Linked DNA regions of Homo sapiens: region 1 is linked to region 2. Evidence: promoter capture Hi-C in 16 types of primary human blood cells and fetal thymus (Javierre and others, 2016). All regions are on one chromosome and are shown on one strand. Each heading gives the region's core, a stretch centred on a gene start or on the middle of the fragment in contact. The rest is flanking DNA. Distances are from core to core; before and after follow the strand shown.

The links. The method cuts DNA at HindIII sites, captures the fragments that hold promoters and counts their contacts. A CHiCAGO score of 5 or more calls a contact.
Region 1: a fragment that was not itself captured here is called in contact with the fragment with the promoter of ADAMTS18 in region 2 in 1 of 17 cell types (endothelial precursors); the score reaches 8.3 in endothelial precursors.

The regions. Positions count from the first base shown.
Region 1 is chr16:77,975,374-77,979,005 of GRCh38, reverse strand. It overlaps VAT1L (vesicle amine transport 1 like), which reads right to left. Exons shown (of 9, transcript NM_020927.3): 9 at 1-1,409. The coding sequence ends at 1,311. Among named protein-coding and RNA genes, the nearest start is that of CLEC3A, 45 kb to the left of the region's middle. The HindIII fragment of the contact is 4,854 bases long and covers 1-3,632 here.
Region 2 is chr16:77,433,496-77,436,980 of GRCh38, reverse strand. ADAMTS18 (ADAM metallopeptidase with thrombospondin type 1 motif 18) reads left to right here and starts at 1,947. Exons shown (of 23, transcript NM_199355.4): 1 at 1,947-2,375; 2 at 2,476-2,563. The coding sequence starts at 2,286. RefSeq lists an enhancer at 1,751-2,251. The HindIII fragment of the contact is 7,514 bases long and covers 1-3,485 here.

The DNA of each region.
Region 1 (3,632 bases), core at 990-3,489, 540 kb before region 2:
ATGAATCAAATGAGCTCCTGGTATCTCCACATTTGTTTGTGAGTGATAGTTAAGCATTTTAGCCAAAAGGACTGGAAGGACGGGGTGAGGAGCTCCCTCTGTTTCTCGAAGGTAACTGTATTCACCTCTCAAGCACAGTCAAATTGCATGGGGGTGGGGTTCCTTAGGAGCTGAAAAGTTGAACAAGGTGTGTGAGCAGGTGGCTTGTTCCTTGGTTTCCGAAGAGCAGGGCGCTGCAGATTCTACACCGGGGTTTATATATGGGAGGGGAGGAACTGTACATCTGACATCAGATGCTGAATATAAACCTTTTGTATCCCTAGAGTTTGTTACATGTTGGGACATGCTTTGGCAAGGAAGGAGATGCTCATTGACTTTTCCACCTATGGTCTGCAAAGGAACTCTTCTTTGGGAAATCCATGGTCAAAGTGGTCACTTTCCACCAGGAATTGAAATTTACAGAATTGGTAATGCAGGTGGCAAGTGTGCAAACACCAGCAATGCTCAGGAATGACTTCTGAATGTGTCTTGTATGTGGTGCTTTCTTAAAATTGAAACAGATATGGAGCAGGAAGAATCCTGCCCATGAGATGTATTTTGGAGGAGAAATCTTCACAGCAGGTCCTCAAACTCATGCTGTTGACCCATTGTCTACTGTGAAAAATCCATACCTGCCTCCCTGTGTTTACAGATAAGAGCCAGTGAAAGGGTCAGACACTGAAGGGGTAGAAGAGAATGGCTCAAACTTTTGACCGTAGTTGTCTCTTAAATGGAGAGAGAAAAAGTACTACTAGGAGAGTTTCTAAATTTGTGGGCTCATGAAAACATCCGGCCTACTCTCTTTCTGCTGGCCAAATTGGCAAGTGTTCTCATCAGAGGCATGGGTGGCCAGCAGCAAAAAAGTGTCACTGGCCTGAGGAATTCTAGGAGCTGGACAGGGCTCTGTGATAACACCTTTCCATCCAAACTTGTCTTTGCCCACGTCTGGTCTCTTAGGCATTGGGCCTGGGACTTGTATTAATTTGCAAGGCTGTTCTAGAACTGTCAAGAAGAACCCACAGATGGATGGTTTTGATACAGGGGAGAGGGGAATGTGTAATACACAGATAGGAGAGGGACATAATACTGCATGGCATGGGATTGGCACTTCAAAAAACAACAGTGATCAACAGCTTTTTAGCTCAGCTGACTGCAGACAAACACGACACGCACTGGACTACAGCATTTGTTCACTGGGGCACAGAAGAGTTTTCTCAGCCGGGTCCTCATCTTCCAAACCATCCTTCACATTCTCCCACCTGGGTCCTCAGTTACTGGATAAAGGGCATCCGCTCCTTGTTCTCGCTGTCTCCCTCGTGGTCCTCCTCCTCTTCCCCTGCTTCACTGGTCTCTGTGCTGTCATTGGCCATCTGTAATTCAAAAGAGGATGTTATTGAGGGTTGTGCAACCCAGCCTCGTCATCTCTGAGCATCTGACAGAGTCCTATGGGAGGACTTCTTGGGGGCTAGGAACTAGGGTTGCTTGTTTCCCTGGAAGGCAATGCAGGATTAGCTGTCATATGTTGGGCACCCTGAGAGACGGTGCTGAGATAAGGATTTGAATACCAGTATCTGGAATTTAGGAGATGATCCCAGGAAGCAGTAGCAGGGGAGTGAAGAAATGAGACCAAAAAGGGGAAGAATCCAATGCAGGGTATGTTAGTAAGTTGGTTCCTGTGTGGGCAGTGGGACTCAGTCCTGCTGGGGACCTCTGAGAGACCCTGGGGGACACATCTTAGAGCTGTCTCTTCTGAGGGAGGAGGAAGCCATGTTATGGCTAAGGGCTGCTCTCAGGGGAGGTGAGTTATCTCCCTGCACCCCACGCAGTTTCTGTGCAAAACTCAAGCATGCTCTGGTGACAAGAGTTAGCTCTCAGGCAGAGAGGGGCAGGTGCCCACAAGAGGTGCCCCTGGAGCGCAGGGGACCCGAATGCCAAGGGGAGGTGTGAGGGGTATTGAGAGCATCAGCTGCACAGAGTCCCCAGGGTTGAAGTCTTGATGCTGTCACTTAAGAAGAGCAGACACAACAACCAGAACAAAGGTGTATTGATCTGCTTTTTGGTCTCTCTTCCCCCAACTGGAATATAGTTTCTGGGAAGACAGGGATTTTGCCTGACTCCTTTTCTTTTGTTAATCACTGGTACCTGGCATAGTTATGATTACCCCTCTGGGTCTTCATTTCCGCCATCATTACAGTGGCGATAAATCCACCTACCTTATAAATTTGTTTTAAGAACCAGGTGAAAGAAAATGGAGTAATGTATCTAAAGAGTCTAGCAAAGGGCTGAGCATATGACAGAGACTCAGAACAAACTAGTTCTGTCCATTAACATCCCCTACATGATCTGTGCCTCAGATTTCTTTTCTGTTCTTATCCCCTGATCTAGATTGGGCCCCAGATCTCCCACACTTGAGTCCTTGGCTGCTTCATGGCTTATTCTGACAAACAGGAATTTGGCCCCTGAATCTCAGCTCTCCCCATGTTGTCTCACCTGAAGCTGGGTTCTCCCCCTTGGCCACACCATGTGCAGTGCCTTCTCCCTGGAATGTCATTCCTCTACCCCCTCTGCCCAGTTCATCCAGTCCATACCTATGTTTCCTTTAGGGCTCATCCTGCTTCCTCAAGGAAGCCTTTGCAGAATTCCCTAACTGGAACAATCTCCCTATTATGAGCTTTCATGGCCCAAATACCTCTTCTTTGTAGCACTGATCAAGAGCTGCAATGTCCCATTTATATGAATGGCTCATTGGCCAATGTCCATCTGCCCCTGCCAAACGGTAGACACCACGGGAGAGGACCATGTCTCTGCAGTTTTCTTCCCTACCACTAGGTACATATGCAACAAGTGTTTTAGGATAATGAAGAACTAACCAGCTAAGCTGTTCCTTAGTAGTGTATATTATAATACATAGTCACCAATATGCCAATTGGCTCGCAGACATTGGTTCTTTTAATCTTCTCTATGGCTCTTTGAAGTAGCAGCAATAGTAGTAATTATTGTTGTTAGTTCTGTTCTACAGCAGTGGAAAGGGAGACCCTGAGGTGATGTGAACACAGAATCCATAAGGGCAGCAGAGGTCAGTAGCCTTCAGGAAAGGCCACCTCTATTCTCTGGGGCACTGGTCAGATGGCCAGGACTGGGGCAGGGCTGCCCGCTGGTACTGTGGGGTCTGGAGGCAGCAGTTCTGCCTCTGCTCTGACCTCATGACACATCATAGGATGAGTTTCGACTTTGCTTTGGTCCAGCCTCATTAAGAGGAGGCTTTCAGCAGGAGAGACTCCACTCTTAGTGTTTCCCAGGAAATTTACTTCTGGAGCTGCCAGTAGCAGTCGACTTCCCCTGCCTGGGTGCTGCCCACACGCCTTAGAGCCCAGACTATTCTAGAGGAGCAGTGTGTGTCCTGCAGCATGCTGGCTGGGCAGATTCGGGGCTGAGTGAGGGCTGAGACTGGTCATGGCCGGGCGCGGTGGCTCACGCCTGTAATCCCAGCACATTGGGAGGCCAAGGCGGGCAGATCACCTGAGGTCAGGATTTCAAGAACAACCTGGCCAACATGGTGAAACCCCATCTCTACTAAAAATACAAAAATTAGC
Region 2 (3,485 bases), core at 698-3,197:
TAGCATTACAGGTGATTTTGACGTATATTCAAGTTTGACACAGGATGTATGAAATAACAGAAATACACCATCACTTCTTAAAGTCCACTTATAATGTGCTTTGAAAAATATATTCACTTACCCCTCAGGCTATCCTTTTGATGTAGCATGTTGATTCCTATTTTACAGATTATAAAACAGAGGCCACAGAGCTTAACCAGATTAAGTAGGGAAACCCAAATGATTTGTTTAGCCCTGATGTTCTGTGAGGCTTAGCTTCATGTTCCTTAGGCAGACACATCACCTTCTCTGCCGCTACAGCCTGGGTTTACCTCTTCCCAGCTGCATTCCATAAAACCGACTATGTGTATTGAGCTATCACTTAATCGAGGCTTGACATAGACCTCATGTTAACTACTTCAGTACCCACAGGACTGAGCAGAGTAATACATCTACTTCCACTACCACTACCCTGGTCCAAGCAAGACACTGTCATTGTACCCCTTCATGCCAGCAACAGCTGCGTGGTTTGTTTCTCTCTGACCCTGCCTCAGCTCGTCCAATCCCTACACTCGCTCAAAAAATGGTTCACATTTTTTTATTATTGGATATGATGTTGCCTCCTACACATACACAAACCCACATTCATTTAAATCTAATGGTTTCCAACATGCTTCGCCCCAGCTTACAAGGTCCAGCTGACCCAGCAACTGCTGTGTTTGCTTCTTCCTCTGGCCTGTAACACTTTTCACGTGGCAATCACTTAACTACCTTGAGACCTTCACTTATGCTGTGCCCCCTGTCCTAACATGCAAGATCCTACTCCCCTCTTCCCTTATAAAACCGATCCACTCTCTCTGGCCTTATTTTAAGTGTCAGCTCCTAACAGATGCCTTGCACGTGTATGTATGCGTGTGTGTGTGTATATATATGTGTGTGTGTATATATACACCCACACACACACACACACACACACACACACACACACATCTTATCCCATCTAAATTAGATTCTGCTGCCATCTAATTTAGGAGACTATTCTTTTCCTTTTTAGTATTTGTGTTCATTTTGCTTCTATTACCGTTGTCGAGCTATCCAATCAGATTCGTTTCCACTGGCCCGTGAGACTGTATTTTGTTCACCTCTGCAAACAGGGATCAAAGGATCAAATAAATGTCTTGAGTAAACGAACAGGCACACAGCAAACTGGATGCACATTCCTAGTGATGGCGTGCGCTGTTTGTTATAACTGATTTCTGTGGGTTTGGGTATCTGGGGCCAAGATTCAATCTCGAAGAGTGGGAAGCACGGTCACGTCAAGAAGAGAGAGAGAGATCCGGGAGAAGAGGGAGGCCCCCGCGTGCCATGAGTTTTTACATGCTGCAGACAGTGACAGCTCATTGTTCTGGTCCTCCCGGCTGCCTCAGATTTGCTGACTCTGGGAAGCTAGGTCAGCTTGTGCGCATCTGAGCCTCCTTTTCCTCATCTTTATCAAGGAATTAATAATTCCCACCTGAAAAAGGTAGGGCCTGAGGCAAATGCGATACAGCAGGGGATAGCTCCCAGCACTTAGGAGGTGTTGAGGACGCTATCTTGACTCTTTGCCAGAAGAGTTGAAAATGAGAAGTCTGCACAGGCAGCGAAAAAGTCGCGCCACTCACCTGAGCCTTTCGTCTTCCGAACTCATCTCCCAGTGCGCTTAAATTACGTTTTCCAAGCCTGACCCTGGGCGCTCCCCTCCTTCTCATGGCGGTCGGTCCCTCCCTCCCTATCACTCCCACCCAGCCTCCCCGCCCCCTTCGCCCCCTCCCTCAGAGCTGGAGCCGGGAATCCCACGCCCTTGCACCAGCCCGGGGGCTCGGACGAGCCCGGGAGCCGCTGGTCGCCAATCACCGCGCGGTGGAGAGGCGGGCGCTCGGCTCCGGCGCGCTGGGGGAGCCAGCTGGCGCTGTCTTCCCCATCGCCTCAGACGCTCACACCGACACAGACAGACGCACAGACGGGCGGGCAGACACCGACAGTCTCCCAACCGTTTGCGCTCCAGTCCCGGCCCAGGGAGCCCCCCGTACCCTCTGGGGTGCCGCAAACTGCAGCTCGGCAGGCCCGCGCCGGGAGAAGGGAGGGCGCGCAGGCGGCCGGAGGAGGGGAGGTCCCAGCGCGCCCCCGCTGCGATGTGAACGGCGGCGGCTCTCACCTGGAGCCGCACCTGGGGCGCCGAGCTCCGGGGCCGCGGAAAGAATGCGCGCCGCCCGTGCGCTCCGCCTGCCGCGTCTGGCCACCCGCAGCCGCCGCGTCCGCACCTGACCATGGAGTGCGCCCTCCTGCTCGCGTGTGCCTTCCCGGCTGCGGGTTCGGGCCCGCCGAGGGGCCTGGCGGGACTGGGGCGCGTGGCCAAGGCAGGTGCCGCCGAGCGGAGCTCCGAGAGCGGGTGGCAGGGGGCGCCCGACGCCAGCCCCGCCGCGCCCCTCACGCGCGATGTCACCTTTTCTCTTGCAGGCGCTCCAGCTGTGCTGCCTCTGCTGTGCGTCGGTCGCCGCGGCCTTAGCCAGTGACAGCAGCAGCGGCGCCAGCGGATTAAATGATGGTTCGTATTTGCCCCCCATCCCCAAGAAGGGCCTTTCGCAGCACTTTGACCCTTCCTTCCCCCAAAGAGAGAAAAGATGGAAAAGCGCACCCCCTAACCTGGCAGGTGTGCGCTGTCTTGGAAATGGTTCCTGTTTGGAGAGGGGGGAAGGTTGGCAAGGACTGAACTTATCAAAAGAATCAACGCCCCGAGCTGCAAGTCACATAAAAGCAAATACTCTCCCTCCTTCACAGGTGGCTTGTTAAGAAGAACAAGAAAAAAAAAAAAATCCTAACTGCAGTGAGAAATTCGAAGGGAAGTGGACATTAACTAAGGAATTACTTATTTCCTCCCTCTCCTAACTCTTGTTGGGGGAAGCTAATTCTTAGTGGGAGATGAAAGAATGTGAGCCTCTTTCCTCTCTCCATCTTTCCTCATTTTTCTCTCGACTTCTGTTCCTTTTCTATCTCTTCTTTTTTTTTCATTTCTGCTTCCCTTGTTTTACGGATGTCTAAGGCTGCTTTTAGAGAGAGGAAAGCAGGTGACTTCAGGTCTCTGAGTCCTTTATCTATCTTTTCTGACGTTCGCCAGCCACAAACTTCCAGAAAATCCCTCACTTCTGACATTTATTAACTTCCCAGTGGAGCCCAGAGGGAAATCCTTGTTTTGATTGTTTCCCATCAGCTACAGGAGAACAGCTGATTCCTGACGCAAGGTGTCTAGGAAAACCTTACAGCTCAACCTGGATTCTTTAGAATTCTGTAATTTTTAGTTTTGCAAGGTTATCTCCTTTTCTTGTCAGGGGAATGGGGAGTGGGGCAGGATGGAGTCATGGAGAAGGGATTCACCTTTTGTCCAAACAGAGAGGCTGCAGTTTCTAAAACCACCCCTCATTCTTATATCAGGATCAGATGGCTGGAGGCCACGTCCGACCCAGCCACAA